Linked DNA regions of Homo sapiens: region 1 is linked to region 2. Evidence: promoter capture Hi-C in 16 types of primary human blood cells and fetal thymus (Javierre and others, 2016). All regions are on one chromosome and are shown on one strand. The core of a region is centred on a gene start or on the middle of the fragment in contact, and the rest is flanking DNA. Distances in the headings are between cores, read along the strand shown. Region 1 holds the start of ANKRD52 (ankyrin repeat domain 52). Region 2 overlaps BAZ2A (bromodomain adjacent to zinc finger domain 2A).

Region 1 (6,549 bases), core at 1,608-4,107, 370 kb after region 2:
AAATAACTCTTCTAGCCCGTCCTCCTCCCTCCAATTGCCCAGAGAACCAGGCTGGCAACCTCTCTTGTTCACCTCCATCCCCTAGCCAGAACCGGGCACGTGACCCCAGCTGAACCCCTGACTCCAATTCCTCAGGTTACCTAGAGTTATTTTGGGCAATGGATACCATGTATGCCCCTCCTCCTTATCCTCTGGGCCATATCCTAGTTTAGCCCTTCCTGGAAGGCCCATCATACCCAATAGCCAAGTCCCAACACCCATATCCATTTGATCCTTTGCTACCTTTGGTTTCTGCTGCTGCTTCATCATCATCATCAGTCATCAAATATTAAATGCCTGTTTCTCTATACTGATATTCTGGAGCTTAAAAAAAACTATACCTGGCTGGGCACGGTGGCTCACGCCTGTAATCCCAGCACTTTGGGAGGCCGAGGCGGGCGGATCACGAGGTCAGGAGATTGAAACCTCCTGGCTAACATGGTGAAACCCCATCTCTACTCAAAGTTAGCCGGGCATGGTGGCAGCACCTGTAGTCCCAGCTACTGGGGAGGCTGAGGCAGGAGAATGGCATGAACCCCAGAGGCGGAGCTTGCAGTGAGCCGAGATCCCGCCACAGCACTCCAGCCTGGGCGGCGACAGAGCGACACTGGTCTCCAAAAAAAAAGGTGAAATGAGAAACAAAGGTGTACAATTTAACCAGATTGTGGCAGTATAAACTAAGTATGTAAGTGTTAAGGAGAACTAACAAAAGGAAAAGAGCCTATTAGCCAGAGGAGACTTCCTGGAAGAGGTAAGTTTAAATTTCTTCATAATTTTTGTGTGTGCATGGAATCACGGAGTGATTGCTCCTAAGCAATATTTTAACTTTTATTTTCAATATGGTAAAAATTTAAAAAATTCCAAAAGGTATATAGTGATAGGTAAATTTCTCTCTCATTCCTTATTTCCTGTACCCCAGTTTTTCTTTCTGGGAAAAAAGGACTGTTACTAGTGTCTTAAGTATCTTTCTAGCAGGAAAGCAAGGGAAGGCTTTTTTTTTTTTTTTTTTTTTTTGACATGGAGTCTGGCTCTGTCACCCAGGCTGGAGAGCAGTGGCTCCATCTCGGCTCACTGCAACCTCCGCCTCCTTGGTTCAAGTGATTCTCCTGCCTCAGCCTCTCCAGTAGCTGGGATTACAGGCGTGCACCACCACACCAGGCTACTTTTTTATATTTTTGGTAGAGATGGGGTTTCACCATGTTGGGAATGGGAAGGCTTTTTTTTTTTTTTTTTTTTTTTTTTTTTGAGACGGAGTCTCGCTCTGTCGCCCAGGCTGGAGTGCAGTGGCGCAATCTCGGCTCACTGCAAGCTCCACCTCCCGGGTTCACGCCATTCTCCTGCCTCAGCCTCCCAAGCAGCTGGGACTACAGGCGCCCGCCACCCTGCCCGGCTGATTTTTGTATTTTAGTAGAGACGGGGTTTCGCTGTGTTAGCCAGGATGGTCTCGATCTCCTGACCTCGTGATCCACCCGCCTCGGACTCCCAAAGTGCTGGGATTACAGGCGTGAGCCACCGCGCCCGGCCGGGAAGGCTTTTTTGAAATGTATTTTCGCCGGGTGCGGTGGCTCACGCCGGTAATCCCAGCTCTTTGGGATGCCGTGGCAGGTGGATCACCTGAGGTCAGGAGTTCGAGACCAGCCTGACCAACATGGTGAAACCCCCGTCTCTACTAAAATAAAAAATTAGCCGGGCAGGGTGGCGGGCGCCTGTAGTCTCAGCTACTTGGTAGTCTGAGACAGGATAATCACTGAACCCGGGAGGCGGAGGTTGCAGTGAGCCGAGATCGTGCCACTGCACTCCAGCCTGGGGGACGAGAGTGAAACTCCATCTCAAAAAATAAAATAAAATGTATTTTTATTTTTTAATTTTTTTCCTCTCCCCTCAAGGGAGGATTTTTATATATAAAGCCTTGACAGGACGCCAGCATGCTGCACTTCGTCCATTTCGTGTTCTCTTCAATGTGTATTGAGTTGTGAAACTCTGAACAGGACCCTGGATCACCTTTTATAAATTGTATCAATTTTTCAATCTCCACTTTTCGTCTTCCTCCTTTTTCCGTTTCTGGGTTGAGATGACCTCCATTCATTTCTTCTCTAATTGACGGCTCTCTGGCCTCTCCATTGGAGGAGGGGAAGCGCCACAGGCTGTTCTGGGGAGAAATTGTTGAGTGTTTTCCACTTTAACCTTGCAATGGAATCAGTAAGGAGTTGGAAAATGCCCCTTCTGTTGGTCTTGGCGGCCTTTTCCAGCTGCCAGTTGTCATGGCCTCTTTGTGGGTGTTTTCTGCAGTAGAATCCTCCTTGGGGTTTCTCTGCAGTTTGAGCACTTTTGCTATTTCTTCTCTACCGAACTCACGCCTCCGCCAGTGGAGATACACGCTTTCCCTCCCTCTGGGGCTATTGCCATACATAATTCCCAGTTCTCCACCCGCCAGTTCCTCCTAGTCTGTGGGGGATTTCGGGGTGTGGAATCGCTGACGGGAGGAGTTAGCTCGGGCGGGAGCATTGTGGGCTGGGTAAGATCTGGCCAGCCGTTCGGTCCTCAGTTTGGGAAGCACCGCGGGACTAAGGCCCAGGTTTCCGCTAGGGTCTTGTGGGGAACCCCTTGGGCCGCCAGACTGGAGCGGAGAGCACAGCGCGGCCAGCTGCGTGAGCCGGGGAGCCGGCGCGCGAGTTCGGGGGTGCAGGGGCTGCTGGGGCCGCCAGGGTGGGGCGGAGGGCGCTGCGGCCGGGGTCCGTTTGCGCGGGGAGCGCCGGGACCAGGACGGCCGCCAGGGAGCGCTGCGGCCTCCAACTCGCCCGCCCCCCGGTAGGCGGGGCCGCGCTCTCCCTGCAGCCGCCACCGCAGCCGCCGCCTGGGCCGCTCCGTGTCCCCGGTGGAGCCGCCGCCGCCGCCGCCGGGAGCTCGATGCGGACGGAGCCCGGGCCGAGCCATGGGGATCCTCAGCATCACGGACCAGGTCAGCCCTCCTGCCCTTTCCCGCTTCCTCCTTCCAGGGCTCGGCGCTGCCGTCACGCGAGCCCGGGGATGTGCGGCCTAGGCTGGGCCTGAGCCCGGGGCTCCCGCAGCTCCCGCCCCGCCCCATGCCGCGCTCCCCTCAACCGAGCCGGTGTCCTTGGGGACCTGGCAACCGGCGGAGGCACCGCGGGAGCTCGCTCCAGCCAGAATCCCTAGAGTGGAGCCCCTCCACGGACGCCCCCCACTCAAACCTAGGTGCTCCCCCACCCCCACCCCCACACCGGTTCCGCTCCGGCTCCAGCCCGCTCTCAGAATGCCGGTTCTCTCTGCAGCCGCCCCTGGTCCAGGCCATCTTTAGCCGAGATGTGGAGGAAGTGCGTTCCCTACTCTCGCAGAAGGAGAACATCAATGTGCTGGTGAGTTGGGAGCAGGGAGGATGGCGAGACCGGAATCCTGGCTCCCGTGTTCTGGACCCCTCCCCACCGGTGGGGCGGCTCCGTGTCTCCTCTGCTCAGATGAGGCCGCAGTTCTTTCCATCCTGGAGTGAAAGCCTACTCTGCATTTGGGGATGGAGAGCAGGTCAGGCTTGAAGCCCAGATCACTTGGGCTGGGAATGCCCAGGAACGTTGTTCTCTTCTCAACCTCCGGAGTCTGCAGCGCCCCCACCCCTCCTGGAAAAAGGAGCCGGCTTCTCAGCCCATTGGCCCTGACTCCACCCTCCCTAGGTGCTTGCCTTTGACTCCCAATACCGGGACTTAGGACGCTGCAGAAACTATGGGAAGAGGTTGTGGGGAAGGGCCTGGAGCTCTGAGACTTGGGCTGGGGTCCTTGATAGCCCCCTTACCCCGCGCCCATACTCCCTGCTCTTTTTTGCCTTCCCAGGACCAAGAGAGGCGAACTCCATTGCATGCTGCTGCCTACGTAGGCGATGTCCCCATCCTCCAGTTGCTACTGATGTCAGGTGAAAGTGGGGAGCTGGAAGGTGTGGCACATAGGGAGCGAAGGGAGGGGAGGAGTCTTTTTTGATATTCAAGGATTGCTCTCCCCGGCTTGGTCCAGGCGAGGCTCCAGCTCCATTCAGATTTCCTGGCCTGATTACTGGCTTCCTTCATACCTCCTCCCCACCTTCCATCAAAATAGGAAATTATATCCCCACAGGTGCTAATGTCAATGCTAAGGACACACTGTGGCTGACCCCTCTTCATCGTGCTGCTGCCTCCCGAAACGAGGTATGCACCCCCACCTTCTATTACCCTTTCAAAAAGGATAAGTTGCTTAAAGGTGGGGGTTAAGGGTTAAGGAGCCTCAGTCCTCAGCCCTACAAGCTGTTCTACCCCAGGTAGTGAGGAGATCAAATCTTGGCCCCTTCCTCCTACCCCTAGAACTGGCCAGTAAGGGGGTTGAGTGCTGCCAGCTGATGTGACTCAGGAAGAGCTTAACACTGGGCTGGCAGACTGCGGGGGCCCTGCTGCCAGGCCTGAGTGACTCATCCCTCCCTGGGGGGCCACCTTGAGTCTGATCCCCCTCTGGGCACTGAGATTTCTTTTCCTTGTGATGGAGGATGGGTATAGTAATCTGTTGCATCCTTGGCCCTCAAGCAGCTTGAAAGTTGACAGCACAGGGGCCAAACATATTTCATCAGTTGGGTCCTTTATCCTATTCCCATCAGCCCTGAAGACAGGGAAAGGGGGACCTCCTCCTCAGTTCATCACTTCCCTGGCTCCAGCCACCAGGGGGAGGGGCCGAGGCCAGTGGGAATGAGGTGGGTGGTGGTTAGGAGGGGCATTTTAGCTCGGGTTTTGCAAACGAACCAGTATCTGTTTGCTTACTGAGATACTGAAAATAATTTTGGTGCCTATGAGAAGGCTAAAGAGGGTGTTCAGGGCAAGATGTAGCAAGAGCATTTAGTTTTCCTAGAAGTAGTAGGGGGTTGGGATGTGTGGATCTCCACATGTGGATTTGTTTGGGAATGGATGTATGTGTGAGTGAAGATTTTCAGGGTCTAAGTTGGCGAGTCAGGTGGCTTGAAGAAGAGCAAAGGGTCCTTGTTTTAATCAGCAAGGTAAGGAAGAGCTTAAGTTCTAAGAAGATCCAGAAGATGGAAAGTAGGTATTCAGAGGCTAGGTATGTTGGAAAAATGAGAAGAGATTCTGTGCTGGGGAAGGGGCTGTAGATGCTATGCTGACCTATTCCTCCTTCCATTTCCTGTTGTTTTACCTCCTGCTCCCACTCTCTCTTTTGTCCCCTGCCCCTCAACAGAAGGTGCTGGGGCTGCTGCTGGCACATTCAGCAGATGTGAATGCCCGGGACAAGCTGTGGCAGACACCACTGCATGTGGCTGCTGCCAACCGGGCCACCAAGTGTGCTGAGGCTCTGGCACCCCTGTTGAGCAGCCTCAACGTGGCTGACAGGAGCGGGCGCAGTGCTCTGCACCATGCAGTGCATAGTGGGCATCTTGAGGTGAGGACTGTTCCCATCCAGGCCCAGCTGGGGCTTTCCCTTTTCTTACCTTCCTACTCACGTTTCCCTGCTTCTGGGCCCTCAAGCCTGAAGGAGAAGCAGCCCGGATGGTTATATAAACACTTAAGCTGAAGCACTAAATGAATGGTCAGACTAGATTAAAATTCTTAACTTGGACTTCAGGAGGTTGATAAAACCTTGGATTTTGCGTGGAAAATATTTGCATACACGCCTTTCTGAAGAGAGTCCATGTCTTTCAGCACATTTGCAAAGACTTACAAGAGTTTAAGAACCGGCCGGGCACGGCGGCTCACGCCTGTAATCCCAGCACTTTGGGAGGCGAAGGCGGGTGGATCATGAGATCAGGAGATCGAGATCATCCTGGCTAACATGGTGAAACCCTGTCTCTACTAAAAATACAAAAAATTAGCCGGGTGTGGTGGCGGCCGCCTGTAGTCCCAGCTACTCGGGAGACTGAGGCAGGAGAATGGCGTGAACCCGGGAGGCGGAGCTTGCAATGAGCCGAAATCATGCCACTGAACTCCAGCCTGGGTAACAGAGCGAGACTGTCTCAAAAAAAAAAAAAAAAAGAGTTTAAGAACCACCAGATCACCTGAAGAGACTCTCTTGTTTCCCTTAAAGTTCCAAATCTCTCCAGTATCTCCTCCTTAGTGCCTGCTTCTGCTGTTCCCTCGAGTCCTCCAGGTTGTTTTGCTCATGGAAAAAGGCATTAGGCTGCCTCAGCCTTTTCAGGAGATGAGGCCTCTGCTCTTAGGTAGGTTGAGGGCACGAATCTAGCTCTGAACAGGTGTCTTTCATATCCTGATGCAGACGGTGAACCTGCTCCTCAACAAGGGAGCCAGCCTGAATGTCTGTGACAAAAAGGAGCGGCAGCCTCTGCATTGGGCAGCTTTTCTAGGTGAGAGAGAATACACGGGAAAATCAGAAATTTGACATTTAGGATTCCTAGGGCAGGGATGTGGGGTTGCAGCCTTTGAAGAGAGGAGTGTAGGGTCTTAGAGTTTACCTTCTACTTCCTTTAGAGTGTCTTCTCTTTTCTCAGGGCACTTGGAGGTCCTAAAACTGCTGGTG
Region 2 (7,226 bases), core at 254-2,753:
AACTTCAGTTGACTCACGTATCCCAATCCCTTCTCCAGAACATCTCTGTCTTCCTGTCTGGTTTCGTTTTGTTTTCCCTTTAGCTAGAGGTCATAGAGAAGCAAACTCAGTTATCTACCAGCGGGGTACGCTCTATGTAAGTGATGCAAATTCCCTCAGCATAGAGAGCTGTCAGGGAGACTAGAGAGCTTTTGTGGCACGAGTAGCTTCTTGGGGTCCTACTTTAGTATAGTTATTATGACAGTTTCTATATTGCAGAGCACCTGAGCAAGTGAGCTTGTGAAGAAGGGTAGATTCTAAGAAATGGACGAAGAGGAAGGGGTGAGGAAGATTTAACTATTAGATGGATTTGTGTGTCGGGGGTAGGGACTGATTAACAGACTGAGATTGGTGAACTCAGTCCTTGGTGGTGATTCTAGCCTAAGGGCAGCCCCTGTGGGAAGCTTGTTATTTGACTAAGGGGTGCTGGAGATACTACCTTCTGCAGAATCAACTAATTAGAATAGTACAGTTTGTTATCATATGACTTACTCTTTAATCCATAAAAGAACGTCTCCCCTCTTATTCTTCTTGGAGATTGGTAAGCTTTTCCTCTGTTCCCTGCAAAGTCGTGCCCAGATTTTTTTTTTCTTTCTTTTCACTTGATAATCCCAGGATATTTCTCCTGTAACATATAGTGATGGACTGTGTGCTATGTCCCCAGGCATTTTGTGGCACACTGGATTTGGTTAGGGGCAACAGTTGGCCACAGAATTTTATTTTTCTTTCTTTTCTTTTTCTTTTCTTTTTTTTTCTTTCTGTCTTTTTTTTTTTTTTTTTTTTTTGAGACGGAGTTTTGCTTTTGTCGCCCAGGCTGGAGTGGTGTGATCTTGTCTCACTGCAACCTCTGCCTCCCGGGTTCAAGCGAGTTGCCTGTCTCAGCCTCCCGAGTAGCTGGGATTACAGGAGCCCGCCACCGCATCCAGCTAATTATTTTATTTTTAGTAGAGACGGCGTTTCATCATGTTGGCCAGGCTGGTCTCGAATTCCTGACCTCAGGTGATCTACCCACCTCGGCCTCCCAAAGTGCAGGGATTACAGGTGTGAGCCACCATGCCTGGTCTTCTCTTCTTTTCTTTTTTTTCTCTTCTCTCTCTCTTTTCTTTTCTCTTTCTTTCTTTCTTTTTTTTTTTTTTTGAGACAGGGTCTCACTCCGATGCCCAGGCTGGAGTGCAGTGGCGCCATCATAGCTCACTGCAGCCCCGACCTCTTTGGCTCAAGTGATCCTCCCACCTCAGCCCCCTGAGTAGCTGGGACCACAGACACGCACCACCACATCCAGCTAATTTTTTGTAATTTTTGTAGAGGTGGGGTTTTGCCAGTTTGCACAGGCTGGTCTTGAACTCCTGGGCTCAAGTGACCTGCCTGCCTTAGCCTCCCAAAGTACTGAGATTACAGGCATGAGCCACCATGCCCGGCCTATGACCCCAGGACCACAGGATTTTAGATTTTGAAAGATAAAGTTTTGTTTTTTTCTTTTTCTTTTTTTTTTTTTTTGAGATGGAGTCTCGCTCTGTTGCCCAGGCTGGAGTACGGTGGCACCATCTGGACTCACTGCAACCCTCGCCTCCCAGGTTCAAGCGATCCTCCTGCCTCAGCCCTCCAGTAGCTGGAATTACAGGCATGCGCCACCATGCCTGGCTAATTTTTGTATTTTTAGTAGAGAAGGGGTTTCACCATGTTGGTCAGGCTGGTCTCGAACTCGAATTGAGCCTCCCAAAGTGCTGGGGTTACAGGCATAAGCCACAGGGCCAAGCCTTGAAAGATAACATTTTCAGATTATTTGGACTATTCTGAAAACTACGTAAGCCTGTCATTTAAATCATCTTTTCACTATTTATTTTCCAGGCAAAAACCCCTCCCACCTAGATGAAGATCCCTAGATTAAAGATCCAGTATGGGAGCAGATAGACACTTATGATTGTGTGAAAGTGGCATCATCACTAGTAAGATAGCAGCATCATTGCTCTTCTCACTGGGGCTGTTGGGGTTTTTGATATTCTGGAAACAGTAAAAACAAGTCCATCTGATGTCAGCATCCTTTTTCTTGCCCCTGATTAGTTCCTTTAAGTTGCTGTCTGATGGGGTTGATTTGATGCTGATTTTAAGTTCCCCTTTCTTCAGCCTTTGCTTACCTGAATTGGCACTTGACAGAACAGCAAGTTGATTTTCCCTGTTGGGGGTTAAAAGAGTAAAGAAAGGAGAGATAACTACTCTTGAGTCTTTGGACTTTTAAAAGAAAAGCTGATTTTGAGAAAATAGTGATTTCATTTGATACATGATTGAATTGGGAGCTGAATGAAGCAAACCTTTCATGGCCTTCTTATAAAATGGGTGCATTTTTCTGTCAGAGAAATATATTTCTTAATATTTCAAGCTTCTCGATGAAAGAAAAAATCTGAGGTGTAAAGAGAGCTGTATGGGCTGACCCCAGAGCCAGTCTAGAATGAAGGGTTCATCTTGTAGTCTTGCGGCTCTGGAATCAAGTATTACTGGGAGAGAAGCAAAGCTTGTTAGGGTTACTGACAGTGTCTTCCTGCTGTTGACCTTTCTTGTCACCACTGAAGAGGTCAAGCACCAAACTGCTATTTTTACTGCTGAAACAGTATAGAAGTTAGTCATTGATAATGATGTTTGACCTTGTGTAAGATGTATCAAGAGCAGCAATAATGCCAAGTATAAAATTTGAGATAATTCCTGGGGTAAATAACCTTCTTGGTTTGTTTCTTAGGATGTTGGTGTCCTCATATGCCTTATATATAGCCCAAGATGAATAGTTTCTCAGTATTATCTCATGTGGGTCAGTAGGACTATTTTTCACCAGCTTGTTATTATCAGTCTGCCTAATTTGGAAATTTAAAAAATTGTGCAAAACAAAAAAGCCCATCTTTGAAGATATCTGATACTTTGAAGATACTGTCACTAGCAGTAAAAGTAGCATTGGCTTAGTGTTTTGTCTTTTCTCCTCTTTAAAGAGAACAGTTATTATGGGGGCATTTTGCAGACTAAAATACTGTAATCTTGCCAAAAATTTACCAAAGAAAGGAAGAAGTTTTTTGTTGTTGTTTTTTTTTTTTTTTTTTTTTTGAGACGGAGTTTCGCTGTGTCGCCCAGGCTGGAGTGCAGTGGCGCGATCTCGACTCACTGCAAGCTCCGCCTCCCGGGTTCACGCCATTCTCCTGCCTCAGCCTCCCGTGTAGCTGGGACTACAGGCGCGCGCCACCATGCCCGGCTAATTTTTGTATTTTTAGTAGAGACGGGGTTTCACCGTGTTAGCCAGGATGGTCTCGATCTCCTGACCTCATGATCCGCCCGTCTCGGCCTCCCAAAGTGCTGGGATTACAGGCGTGAGCCAAGAAGTTTTTAAAAGATAGATGGTCTTCCTACTTTTAGTCTTTTGAGGTTGGACTCTGTAACCTGCCTCATGAATGGGGTCCTTAACCTGCCTGCTTAGCTCATATTTGGGGGTGGAAAGGGTGGAGTCCTTAACTGTTAGAGTTTAAATTCTGGCTGGGCACGGTGGCTCAGCCTGCAGTCGCAGCACTTTGGGAGGCTGAGGCGTGCGGATCACCTGAAGTCAGGAGTTCAAGACCAGCCTGACCAACATGGTGAAACCCTGTCTCTACTAAAAATATGAAAATTAGCCGGGTGTGATGGTGGGCGCCTGTAATCCCAGCTACTTGGGAGGCTGAGGCAGGAGAATTGCTTGAACCGGGGAGATGGAGGTTGCAGTGAGCAGAGATCGTGCCACTGCACCCCAGCCTGGGCAACAGAGCCACACTGTCTCAAAAAAAAAAAAAAAAAAAAAGAAATTCTAAGAAACAATCAGAGCTGAAAGAGGGAAATTACCTTAATATAACCTCTGGACTGTGGCTTTTAGTGTCCTGCAATTTCAGAGGCATTCCTGGTCTTCTGAGAGTAAAGTGACTGGAAATGTGGCAGAAAACTTAACCTGTAGTTTCTTTAATTAACAAATATATAAAAACCTATTATATGCCTCAAGTGTTCAGTTAAACCAAGTAGAATGTTTTATTAATTCAGAGCTTACGTTTATTTATTTTTTTATTTGGTTGAAAACGGTGGTGTGATCATAGCCCACTGCAGCCTCCAGGTCCTGGACTCAAATAATCCTCCCACCTCAGCCTCCGGAGAACCTGGCACTACAGGCATATGCCACCATGCCTAGCTAATTTATTGGCTTTTTACATTATCAGTACTTCCCTATTTTCAGGCCTTATTTTCTTCAAGGAATGGCTATTTAAGTACGTCAAGATTTGAGGCCTTTCTTCTCTCTTGAAATTTTTATCTCTGTGAAGAATGAAGCTGAGTTTTTTTTTTTTTTTTTTGTTCTCTGAAAATAGTAAGAGCAAAGCCCATGACCTTCATTGGATAAGTAAGCTGGTAGTGGCAGAAAAGGTAGATTTACTCATTCATTTCTTCAGTCCATGGACTCAACAAATATTTCCTTTGGTTCTTTTGTATACTTAGCACTAAATTAGGTGCTAGGGATATAATGGTGGAACTTATATCCAACTGATGCTGTGGAACCGACATAATGTAGAAGAAATAAGGACAGAGAACAGTCATCTTTGAATTCTTCTGAACAGCCTGGACGTGACAGTTTTCTTTGAGTAGCCCCCTCTTAGTATAATCTTCCTTCTTTCATTATCTTTGTTCTGCCTCACTTGGAGTCCTGACTAGGGAAGGTAGTTAAGGAGAGGATGGATATTTTGAGCCTCAGTCAGTATATGATATAGTTTGTCCGAGTCAGAGTTCAAGGGAAGCTTGTTACTAGGGCACTCAGAATGGGTTATCGTGATTGGAGAAGAGGGCATATTTATTCTGTGGCTTGGTACTTGGAATTTTTTTTTTTTTTTTAGTGTAGAGATAGGGTCTCACTGTGTTGCGCAGGCCAGTCTTGAATTCCTGGCCTCAAGTGATCCTGCTGAGGTTATAGGCATGAGCCACCTCTCCCAGCCTACATGGAACTCTTATTGGTGGAGGAACATGGCTTAGCCAGGGAGATGAGGTTTTTAGATACAAAAGCCAAAGCGTCCTCATTTGCAGTGTCAGGAACTGGGAACAGTGAAAACTTGGAACTTTCCCAAGGTGTGGGGCAGGAATGGGACAGCTTTTACATTAGAACAGGGTTTCTCAGCCTTGGCACTATTGATAACGTGGGCCAGATAATATCTTCGTTGTGGGGGGCGCTGTCCTGTTTGTTGAAGGACGCCTAGCAGCATCTTTGGCTTCTGCTTACTAGATGCCAGTAGCACATACCTTCAGAGATTACTAAATGTCCCCTACGGGGCAGAATTGCCCCTGATGAGAACCTCTGTATTAGAGTGTGGTGGGTAATCCAGAGATGTGTAGAGTTAAGAAATATCCTTCATGATGTTCACAATTACAAAGCTAAAATGTAGTGGTGTGATTTTTACTCTAGAATTTGCCTTTGCTGTTTAGTCAAGATAAACATTTGAAATCTCTCTCACCCCCCAACCCCATTTGTGAGATTTTGATGTACTACATGAGAAGAATGAACCCAAGAGCTGCAGGGACCACTGCAGTATCCAGCTGGAGGGTGTTAATGTGTCTTGTTGTCCTGGGGGGTAGCCTCAGAGGCTGGAGGGTTAGAATTGGTCAGGGAGGACACCTGTAACAGTGTTGCAATATATAATATTTATTTCAACACTTTGTGCATTGTCAGCCTTTTTCTTTTTTTTTTTTGAGATGGAGTCTCGCTCTGTCGCCCAGACTGGAGTGCAGTGACGCGATCTCGGCTCACTGCAACCTCCACCTCCCGGGTTCACGCCATTCTCCTGCCTCAGCCTCCCGAGTAGGTAGGACTACAGGTGCCCGCCACCACGCCTGGCTAATTTTTTCTATTTTTAGTAGAGACAGGGTTTCACCGTGTTAGCCAGGATGGTCTCGATCTCTTGACCTCGTGATCCGCTCACCTCGGCCTCCCAAAGTGCTGGGATTACACGAGCCACTGCTCTTGGTGTTGTCAGCCTTTTTCTATTAAACCATGTCACAGGCCCACAGAGTAGCAGCTCTTTGATTGGAACTGGGAGAAAAGCAACCTATTCGGCCCTGTGGGGAGGGCTTTATTGCTTCAAGCTTATAGGGCAATGTCCCTTACTCTTATAAATGAAACATAGGAGCTCTTAAAAGATCCATTTATGTATAGCTGGGACTGGGCTGGGTGCTTGAATGAATGTACTTCCTGGTATGAGAGTCATCTGCTACTCTAGGGGTTGGGCACTGGCTGATTTCTTTTCTCATTTGGTGAAAATCCTATTAGTTCAAAGGGAGATGCTCTCCTTTGCTTTACTGTTCTTACTAGCTCTGGATGGGAGGACAGAGTTTACCTTTAGGGTTTATTGTGAAAAGCATCTTGAGTAGGAAGGTTAAAATGAAATAAACCTAGGTTCATTGTTGAGAGGAGGTGTTCACATGTTTTTCGTATTCCCATACTGTGACATAATTAATTCCCATATTTAAGTGACATCTGAAATCAGGAGTCAAATTGTATATAAGGAAGTCTGGCTGGATCATCCCTAGTTTTAAATTATATTTATTTTATATGTAGACCGTTTAGACCTGATTATCTTTTTTTTTTGGAGATAGAGTGTTGCTCTGTCACCCAGGCTAGAGTGCAATGGTGCGATCTCAGCTCACTGCAACCTCCATCTCCTGGATTCAAGCAATTCTCCTGCCTCAGCCTCCTGAGTAGCTGGGATTACAGGTGCCCGCCACCACGCCCAGCTAATTTTTTGTAATTTTAATAGAGATGGGGTTTCGCCATGTTGGCCAGGCTGGTTTCGAACTCTTGACTTCAGGTGATCCACCCACCTTGGCCTCCCAAAGTGCTGGGATTACAGGCGTGAACCACTGCGCCTGGCCAGGCCTGATTATCTTTTTGAAAACTACACAGTCTTTTACTGTTTGTCTAATAATAGTAGCTAATGTAGTCCTGGTAAGGTGGCTCACGCCTGTAATCCCAGCACTTTGGGAGGTCAAGGTGGGAGAATTGCTTGAGGCCAGGAATTTGAGACCATCATGGGCAACATAGCGAGACCCTGTGTCTACAAAAAAATTTAAAAATTAGCCAGGTGTGGTGGTGAGCACCTGTAGTCCTAGCTACTTGGGAAGCTGAGGCAGGAGGATTACTGGAGCCCAGGAGT

Evidence for each region. Contacts are between HindIII fragments. The CHiCAGO score rates a contact against its expected background, and 5 or more counts as called.
Region 1: the fragment with the promoter of ANKRD52 here is called in contact with a fragment that was not itself captured in region 2 in 1 of 17 cell types (M1 macrophages); the score reaches 5.2 in M1 macrophages.

The regions. Positions count from the first base shown.
Region 1 is chr12:56,254,692-56,261,240 of GRCh38, reverse strand. ANKRD52 (ankyrin repeat domain 52) reads left to right here and starts at 2,857. Exons shown (of 28, transcript NM_173595.4): 1 at 2,857-2,998; 2 at 3,330-3,413; 3 at 3,880-3,958; 4 at 4,156-4,226; 5 at 5,257-5,457; 6 at 6,289-6,376; 7 at 6,521-6,549. The coding sequence starts at 2,972. RefSeq lists silencers at 2,599-2,658, 2,669-3,218, 3,239-3,308 and enhancers at 3,369-3,418, 3,499-3,548, 3,855-4,847. The HindIII fragment of the contact is 14,479 bases long and covers 1-6,549 here.
Region 2 is chr12:56,621,776-56,629,001 of GRCh38, reverse strand. The region is part of intron 1 of BAZ2A (bromodomain adjacent to zinc finger domain 2A); the gene reads left to right. Among named protein-coding and RNA genes, the nearest start is that of BAZ2A, 4.9 kb to the left of the region's middle. RefSeq lists an enhancer at 1,298-1,799. The HindIII fragment of the contact is 1,831 bases long and covers 588-2,418 here.